Linked DNA regions of Homo sapiens: region 2 is linked to region 1. Evidence: promoter capture Hi-C in 16 types of primary human blood cells and fetal thymus (Javierre and others, 2016). All regions are on one chromosome and are shown on one strand. Each heading gives the region's core, a stretch centred on a gene start or on the middle of the fragment in contact. The rest is flanking DNA. Distances are from core to core; before and after follow the strand shown. Region 1 holds the start of RNASEH1 (ribonuclease H1). Region 2 holds the start of NOL10 (nucleolar protein 10).

The links. Contacts are between HindIII fragments. The CHiCAGO score rates a contact against its expected background, and 5 or more counts as called.
Region 2: the fragment with the promoter of NOL10 here is called in contact with the fragment with the promoter of RNASEH1 in region 1 in 1 of 17 cell types (monocytes); the score reaches 7.8 in monocytes.

What each region holds. Positions count from the first base shown.
Region 1 is chr2:3,555,998-3,560,866 of GRCh38, reverse strand. RNASEH1 (ribonuclease H1) reads left to right here and starts at 2,534. Exons shown (of 8, transcript NM_002936.6): 1 at 2,534-2,734; 2 at 3,963-4,078. The coding sequence starts at 2,607. RNASEH1-DT (RNASEH1 divergent transcript) reads right to left here and starts at 2,481. Exons shown (of 3, transcript NR_038429.1): 1 at 1,869-2,481; 2 at 1,138-1,419. RefSeq lists enhancers at 1-768, 2,433-2,682 and silencers at 2,083-2,402, 2,773-2,872. The HindIII fragment of the contact is 22,605 bases long and covers 1-4,869 here.
Region 2 is chr2:10,687,060-10,691,664 of GRCh38, reverse strand. NOL10 (nucleolar protein 10) reads left to right here and starts at 1,690. Exons shown (of 21, transcript NM_024894.4): 1 at 1,690-1,869. The coding sequence starts at 1,804. It also overlaps the pseudogene RN7SL832P. RefSeq lists enhancers at 1,844-2,123, 2,184-2,243. The HindIII fragment of the contact is 7,879 bases long and covers 1-4,605 here.

The sequences.
Region 1 (4,869 bases), core at 1,285-3,784:
GTCAGGAGTTCAAGACCAGCCTCACCAACATGGTGAAAACTTGTCTCTAAAAATACAAAAATCAGCTGGGCGTGGTGGCGCATGCCTGTAATCCCAGCTACTCGGGAGGCTGAGGCAGGAGAATCGCTTGAACCCAGGAGGCAGAGGTTGCAGTGAGCCAAGATCATGCCACTGCACTCTAGCCTGGGCGTTGGAGTAGGACCCGGAAAAAAAAGAAAAGAAAATAAAGAAAGAAGAAAAGGAAAGAAAAGAAAGAAACAAGAAAAGAAAGAAAGAAAGGAGAAAGAAAAGAGAACAAAGGAAGAAAAGACGAAAGAAGGAAAGAAGAAGGAAGGAAGGAAGGAAGGAAGGAAGGAAGGAAGGAAGGAAGGAAGAAGGAAGAGAGAGGGTTTTGGCACTGTGGAAAGTCATGTGGATGATCCTGCAAGCGTCCTCAGGTAATTCCAACCTAGGACTTCTCAGGGAAGATGAGTCCTTGTGATACAGGACCAGCCAGTGGGCACAGAAAAGCAAGCCCTTGGTAGGTCAACCCTCAGATATGCTGACGAGGTGGGGGCAGCTGTCAGGTCATCCTGAGAGCCTTCCCGGGCATCTCTGGGCTTCCTCAGATATCTACACAAGGGTAGGATGATCAGTCATAAATGGACTTTAGGGACAGCTGTGTGTGTCTTTTTATTTTAAAATAAGAATCCGTCTTGAAGTGCAATAGGTAGGAATGAGGAATGAAAGCTATGGCCAATTTAAATTAAAATTAGGAAAGCTGAAATGTTTAAAATTGATGTTCTTTGGCCAGGCACAGTGGCTAATGCCTGTAATCCTAGCACTTTGGGAGGCTGAGGCAGGCGGATCACTTGAGGTCAGGAGTTCGCAACCAGCCGGGCCAACATGGTGAAACTCTGTTTCTACTAAAAATACATAAAAATTAGCCAGGCGTGATGGCGGGCGCCTGTAATCCCAGCTACTTGGGAGGCTGAGGCAGGAGAAATGCTTGAACCCGGGAGGTGGAGGTTGCAGTGAGCCCCAATCGTGCATCGTGCCACTGCACTCCAGCCTGGGCGACACAGCAAGACTCTGTTTAAAAAAAAAAAAAAAAAAAAAAAAAGATGTTCTTCGATTTCACAGAGGAACACAACTTACCACGCCAATGTACGCGTCGCTTTTGCCTGGGCCGTTCCTTCTTCCTAGAATGTCCTGCTTCTTTCTCTTTGTCTAACTCATGTGAATGAACTTTTTAAAAAATTAGTATCCTTCAAAACTGTATTTGCTCAGGCGTTCTGATGTGAGGCCCTCCTGACTCTCCAGGTGCGGGTGCTTCTCTGCTCTGTGTCTCTCACCTCCAACAGCTTGTTCTGCCTGCGCACTATTTGCTGATGTGTTATCTCCGGGGATTCTCGAATTTCTCACCTTCATCCCCAAGGCCTGACAAAATACATGGCAGGTGTGCAAAAGGCTTGTTAGAAGACCTTAAGAAAATTAAAGAAAAGTGGTTTAAAAATAATTCGAATAACAATGTTTGCCAATGGAGACTTTTTTTTTTTTTTTGAGACGGAATCACGCTCTGTCGCCCAGATGCAACCTCCACCTCTCGAGTTCGAGCGCCTCTCCTGCTTCAGCCTCCTGAGTAGCTGGGATTACAGGCGCAGGCGACCACGCCCGGCTAATTTTTGTATTTTTAGTAGAGACAGGGTTTCATCATATTGGCCAGGATGGTCTCGATCTCCTGACCTGGTGATCCACCCGCCTTGGCCTCCCAAAGTGCTGAGATTACAGGCGTAAGCCACCACGCCCCTCCAACCCATGAACACTTTTAAAATTACTTGATTTGCTTACAGAGCAAAAGGTCAAATGGGGAGAATTCTAAAAGTTACCTTCTCAACTCAGTTTTCTCCCGGGTCGTGGTGCTTGAGGCACTGGATATCCCCTGGTTAAACACCCACGTGCAGTGGAGCAGGGAGGGGACGCGCCCCTTCGGGGGTGGGCGCCCAAGGCAAGGGGAGGAATGCGGCTTCCACGGCCTCCCCTCTCGCCCTCCTTTGTGCTTATTCTAATTCATGAATTCTAACATCTTTCTGCCCACTAAAAAATGTGCATTCATTCATCTGGCCACAGCCCTTACTGTAGATCCGCATCCCTGGAGCTCTCGAGGAGCCGCGGTTACCGCACGTGGGTGCCGGGCGCCAGGGGGTTCAAGGGCTTCCCGCGGTGACCCGAGCACGCCGGGGCGTGGCCCCCGAACTGCGGCCTGGGGGCGGGGAGAGAAGGGGCCCAACATGGTCCATCTCGACCTTCCTCTGCCGGGCCCAGGGCTTCAGCCCCGCTCCCATAGGCCCCGCCCCATCCCAGACCTCGCCCGCCTTCGGGATCTCAGCCCTGGCTCCGCTTCTTCAAGTACCGACAGGAAGTTGACGAGTTCGGGCTCGTCAGGGGCCGAGCTCCGGGCTCCGCCCTACGACACCGCCCCTCCCTAGGCCCCGGCCCTCATCAGGACTCCGCCCAGACGTGCGTCATCTTCCCGCGCCGGTGACGGAAGTGCGGTGTTGAGCGCCGGCGGCTCGCGCCCACGCTGGGCCGGGAGTCGAAATGCTTCCCGGTGCCGGGAGTGAGCGATGAGCTGGCTTCTGTTCCTGGCCCACAGAGTCGCCTTGGCCGCCTTGCCCTGCCGCCGCGGCTCTCGCGGGTTCGGGATGTTCTATGCCGTGAGGAGGGGCCGCAAGACCGGGGTCTTTCTGACCTGGTGAGTGGCCCGCCCGCCGAGGCGCCTCCCTGCCGGCATCGGGGTCGAGGGAGGCCGGAGCCCGGCTAACCCCGGCGGCGGGAGCCTGGCGGTCCGAGTCTGTGCCGCGCGCTGTGGCTGTGGGTGGTCGGGGGACCGCCTCGTTTTCCTGCTCGGCCGGCGGGGTTCCAGGAGGCTCATGGCCTGGGACTGGAACGCACCGAAGACTTGTTTGAAATATCAGAAACGTCGCGTAAAGGTTAGGGGTGGCCTAATAAACCCTGTGTTTAATCCTCCATCTTTGTTGCAGTTAAAGTGCAACAAAAAGTGACACGTAATCAGAACGAACCCCCGTTACCAGAAGACTTTCCGTACCAGCTAAATTGGGATTGGAACTCAGTACCTAATCTTCCCTTTTAAAAAAGGCAAATTCTAATAAGCCAGTATTTGCAGTTGGATCCTTGTAACAACCCTTGGAGGTGAGAGGGATTATTCTCACTTTCAGGTATAGTTCTTGGGGTCAGGAAGTTCCCAGGGCATGTAACTGACAGAGAAAGGACTTGAGCCCAGCTGTTCTGACTGTACCACCAGAACTCTTCCCACTACAAGATACCAAAGTTCGTTACCTGTGTTTCCCCATGCACGGCAGCTACAGTATTGAGGAAGAAGCATCTCAGAAGTTGACCTTTTTGTTGTAAAGAAATGGTTAATATTTTTTTCAAAGACCGCAGTATTTTGTTATGCTTTGAGTTTGACGAAAGCCTTATGGTGCTGGTGTGCTGGCTGGCTGGCATACAGTAGAACACAGGTGTAGAGTCTGACGTGCAGGATAAAACTATAAGGTGCGACTCTGCCCTTTTCACGCAAAAATTGGTCCTCTATATCCAGTTTGCATCCTCAGTTTCAGCTAACCATAGATCAAAAATATTTGGAAAAAATTAAAATAGAATACAGTTTTAAAATACGCATAAAAAGACAATACAACTATATAGATTGTATTAGGTATTATAAACTAGAGATGATTTAAAGCATGCAAGAAGATGTGTGTGGGTTATTTGCAAATACACCATTTTATGCAAAGGACTTAAGCATCCTCTGATGTTGGTATCTGTGATGGGGTGGAGGACTTCCTGGAATCAGTCTCCCTCAGATACCAAGGGACAACTGTATTTCCAACCTTAAGAATCTCAATAAAAAAGGGGATAAGTTAGAGAAGGAAGAAGGAAATAACATTGCACATCTTTTCCAGGAATGAGTGCAGAGCACAGGTGGACCGGTTTCCTGCTGCCAGATTTAAGAAGTTTGCCACAGAGGATGAGGCCTGGGCCTTTGTCAGGAAATCTGCAAGCCCGGAAGTTTCAGAAGGTAGTCACCTCTCATATCAGTGTGACATTTTAACCTATTCAAAGGCTTTCATATGCCAGATGGCATTTGATCTATATAGCTACCCTCTAGGCATGTAGGGAACCTCGTGTGATTGTTTTCATTTTACAAATTAGGGAACAGACTGAAAGCAGTTACAAATAGTGGTTCATATTACTTACAGTATTAGGGATAAGCCAGGACTCAGCTCTCCTGTTCCATTCAGCCTTTTATGCCATAATTCCTTGTCTTTTTTTAAAAAAATACTTGTCCAGCCTGGCCAACATGATGAAACTCCATCTCTACTAAAATACAAAAATTAGCTGGGCATGGTGGCGCACACCTGTAATCCCAGCTACTCGGGAGGCTGAGGTGGGAGAATTGCTTGAGCCCGAGAAGTGGAGGCTACAGTGAGCCGAGATTGCACCACTGCACTCCAGCCTGGGTGACAGGGCAAGACTCGTCAAAAAAAAAAAAAAAAAACTTACATAGTTATTGGACTGGATGGGCTACAGTTTACAGGAATGAGTGTGGTTCTTTCCATGGCATGCCCCTTTGTGGTGTTGCCTTTTTATTGAGAACAGAGTCACACAATCTGAATTTCTTCTTTTTTTTTTTCCTTGAGACAGAGTCTCTGTTGCGCAGGCTGGAGTGCAGTGGCACAATCTTGGCTCACTGCAGTCTCTGCCTCCTGCGTTCAAGCGATTCTCCTGCTTCAGCTTCCGGAGTAGCTGGGATTACAGGTGCGTGCCACCACGCCCGGCTAATTTTTGTATTTTTTTTAGTAGAGATGG
Region 2 (4,605 bases), core at 441-2,940, 7.1 Mb before region 1:
TTGATGCCAAACTGAGGACACCCAACGCTCGTTGCGTGCTACAGCCAAGAACTCCTGGGCTCAAGTGATTCTCCTGCTTCGGCTTCACTAGTAGCTAGGACAATAGGCCTGCACCACCAAGCCAAGCCAGAGTCTGTGATCTAACCATTCTATTATGCCACCTTTCCCAAAGATGTTTACAGTTTTTCTTAACTGTAACCAGTGTAGAAAATTAAAAATTTGTGGAGGATCTTAAATTTGAGGACAGAGTTAAGGAATATATCCCTACGTACATGGCTAAATGTAAATATGTAGCAATGCCTAATAGAGGCCAGGCACTGTTCTGGTACTCTGGGTAGGGGTGGATGGGGTGGATAGGGAATATAAGGACAAATGATATAGGGTCCACGAAGAACTCTCAACCTAATTCTGATGCAATGTGGTGTTGGTATTTGAGAGTTTCCAAAATGTTGTGGGTAGGAGAGCAAAACAATAATATTTGGGTTTTAGAAAGTAAGGCATAAAATAATTTGTTCATTAAATCAAAGGAAGTAAGAAGATCACTTGGGAAAGTTATAATCCAAAAATAGTTAAGTATTTGAGTTTCAGCAGGAGGAATGAAAACAGATTACTTTAAGGAAATATTTCATAATTAGAAATATCCAGGTTTAGATACTGAAAGTGAGGGCCAGAGATAGGAATGGGTTGAAGATGACGCCACAGTCTTCTTTTTTTTTTTTTTTTTTTTTTGAGACGGAGTCTCACTCTGTTGCCCAGGCTGGACTGCAGTGGCACGATCTCAGCTGACGGCAACCTCTGCCTCCCGGGTTCAGGCGATTCCCCCACCTCAGCCTTCAGAGTAGCTGAGATTACAGGCGCGCGCCACCAGGCCCGACTGATTTTTGTATTTTTAGTAGAGACGGGGTTTCACCATCTTGGCTAGGCTGGTCTTGAACTCCTGACCTCAGGTGATCCGCCCGCCTCGGCCTCCCAAAGTGTTAGGATTACAGGCGTGAGCCACCGCACCCGGCCTACAGTACTTCTAACGTAACATCGCAGAAACACTGGAGGAGAGAAGAGAATACACTTCCACTCGGAATTCGCACCCTGGTCGCCTTCATTCGCTGGGTTCACTCGCTGAACTGCCTCGCCCCCGCCCGGGAGGATGACATCTCGGCCTGGGCAGAGACTCGAAAGCCTCCTCCTGCCGCTCGGGATGCTAACAGCAGGGAGAGCTGTGTCTAGTTTTTTTTTTTTTTTTTTTTTTTTTGAGAGGGAATCTCGCTCTGTCCCCCAGGCTGGAGTGCAGCGGCGCGATCTCAGCTCACTGCAACCTCCGCCTCCCAGGTTCAAGCAATTCTCCTGCCTCAACCTCCCGTGTAGCTGGGACTACAGATGCCGGCCACCACGCAAGGCTAATTTTTTTGTATTTTTAGTAGAGACGGGGTTTCACCATATTGGTCAGGCTGGTCTCGAACTCCCGACCTCAGGTGATCCGCCCGCCTCAGCCTCCCAAAGTGCTGGGATTACAGGCGTGAGCCACCGCGCCCGGCTTGTGTCTAGTCTTGCCCGTAGCAGCGTCGCCGACAGCCACGCCGGGTTGTCAGAGCCTCACTAGTTTTTCTCCCGGCCGCCGCTCTTCCCGGATTCAGCCACCTTCCCTCTTCCGGGAACTTGCCCGCGTGTTCCGGCTCCAGGAAGTGCGTCATCAGTCGGCGCCAGCGGCCGCACGCCGCGGAGCAGGGGCTCGGAGGTCCCGGGATTACGGTGCTCGAGCACGCTGGTGGGAAAGGACCCGGGACTTGAACAGTGTTGTGCGGCGCCATGCAGGTCTCCAGCCTCAATGAGGTGAAGATTTACAGCCTCAGCTGCGGCAAGTCCCTTCCTGAGGTGAGTCACTTCCCGGCCCCCTCACTCTCGAGCTCTTGGGGGTCGTCCTCCTCGTGGGGCAGCCGCCCCTCTCCTCGGCCCTAGCCTCTGTTTTAGCTGGACGCTGGTCACCCCCCGACTCGGGGAGGCCCAGAGGCGGCTGACAATTTCCGGGGGAGGTGTCGGCATTGGGAGACAAGGACACTGCCGTCACCGCGCCAGAAACTGGACCAAGGGATAATCAGGGTCAGTGAGCTTTGCTGGAACTTTTGTAAAGTTCTCTGTTCCAGAGAACGCAACCATTTGGGCCTCTTTGGGTGTTCACAGTCCCTGCCGTACATCGAGGAGGAAAACGTGGCAGATTCGTTGACACATCTCTCCCCCATATGGCCATCAGCTGTTTGTGGAGTCCCTATCATTTGCCAGGTCTTAGGGATACAACAGTGAACAAGGGAGATACAGACTTCGCATCTGCAGAATTTATGGTGTAGAGGACAGTATTTTCGAGACTTGTTGAACTTAACCTGATTCCTAGTCTTAAAGTTGGAGAGGGCTTGGACAAGTCGGTAATTCTCTTCCAATCTTCTCGTGTTTAGTAATGCAGCTGAGATTTAATAATGCGTTTAATATGCAGCTGAGATCCAGCAAGGGGAAGGGTGACTTGTCCAGCATGACACACTTAGGCTCTGAAACTTGTCTTTTGTTTCTTATACGTGATGATCCAGCCTCTGTCCAAGCACTACCACTGAGCACTACCTTTTGTGGAAGCTCATTTCCATTTTGAGACTCTGCACTTGTTAGAAAGTGGTTTTCAAATATGTCACCTTATAGCATGCCACTGTTGGCCTGAGTCCTGCCCTTGGAAAACAGAATAAATATAGCTCTCCTTCCATGCGTCTGCTTCTACAAAAATTTGGAGCCAGTGCTTAGGTTTTTCCTTTCTTCCTAAAATTCTGGTTTGAATAATTCCCTGTCTTCCAGTTGTTCTTCACACCCCATGAGCTTTCTCATTTTGTTCATTCATTCTCCACATGTATTGAGAAGTTACTGTGTGCAAGCAACTCTGTTTTAAGTATTGGGATCTATAGTGGACATTTCAGATAAGGTTCCCTGTTGGGGAAAAGGGAAATAAACAAGTGAGCAAATAAGGCAATTTAAGGTAGTCAAAAAGTACTTTTCGTGGTGAATGATTAGAAGAGAGCTGTTTTGGATAAAATATTGAGAGAAAGTGTTTTGGATAAAACCTTCGGGGAAGGCCTCTCTACAAGAGGTGACATATGAGCAGAAACTTGGATGATGAAGAGGAGCCAGTCGTGTGAAGATGTGGGGAAGAGTTTTCAGTGCTGAGAACAGAAAGTGCAAAAGCCCCACATGGGAATGCACTGGACATGTAGGAGGACGGAAGAGGCACAGGTGTGATTGCACTATGCTGAGTGAGGGGGCGAGAGCAGGGTGGATGAGGCTGGAGAGGTAGGCCTGGTAGGAAAGGTAGGAAGTTCAAGTTTTATTCTTAGTGCTGCTGGAAGTCACTGTTGTGTGGGCTGCTGTGCGACAAATGTCTAGCTGGGGAGGGTTCAAGTCGGGATGAATTAGGTAGTCCAGGTGAGCGACTTCGGTGGCTTGGGCTTGCCTGGTAACAAAGAAGATGCTAAAACACAGTGAGATTCAGGACATACTTTGTAGATAGGGTAATGGAACTTGCTAATGGATTGGACTGTTGGTAGAGGGAAGTTGAGGTGACAAAAAGGAAGGAATCAGAGAACTCTTCAGTTTTGAGTCTGAACAAGTGGGTGCACGGTGGTGCTGCTAACTGACATGGAGAAGAATCAAGAAGGAACACATTGAAAGGTGGAGAGGAGGAACGTAGTGAGCAAAAAGAATCAAGATTTTTTTTTGAGGTCGCGTGCAATGGCCTGATGTTGGCTCACTGCAACCTCTCGGGTTCAAGCGATTCTCCTGCCTCAGCCTCCCCAGTAGCTGGGACTACAGGCACGTGCCACCACACCAGCTAATTTTTGTATTTTTAGTAGAGACGGAGTTTCACTATGTTGGCCGGTATGGTCTCGATCTGATCTTGTGATCCACCCACCTCGGCCTCCCAAAGTGCTGGGATTACAGGCATGAGCCACTGCACCCGGCCCAAGGTTTTTATTTTCAATAGTGAACATTTGAAGTTCTAATACATACCAAATGGAGATGTTGAGTAGTTAGCAGTTGCATGGATACTAGGATGGAGATTGCAGGTGAATTTACTGTCGTTATTTGGGACTAGGTGAGATCAAATTGTGAGAGAAAGAACAGAGAAGATAACTAGGCTGAGGACCTGAGGCAGTCTTAGCATTTGTCATCCAAGAAGAGGAGGGGAACCCAGCAAAGAAGAAAGAGTAGTGGGCACTGATGGAAGGGGAGACTGGGAAATGTGTAGTTTTGTAGAAGTAAGTGTTTCAAGGAGGAGGTGGTGGTCACCTGTGTCAGCTGCTACTGAGAGCTTCAGTAAGATGAAGGCAGAAAAATGACCATCGACTTTGGCATGATGCAGAGCGCCCTTGACCTTGGCAAGGAGCTCCAGTGGAGTGGTGGGGAGGGTAGCTTGAGCTGAGTGGATTTGGAAACCCCTGCTTGTCCTGTTTAATATTTTCTGGTTATTTCTTTGAGGTGTGGTGCCTAAACTACACGTGGAACCCCAGTTGTTGTCTGATCTGTGCAAATATTGCTTCTCTCCTTCTGGGCTTTACCTTTTTATTAATGTAGAGAAGC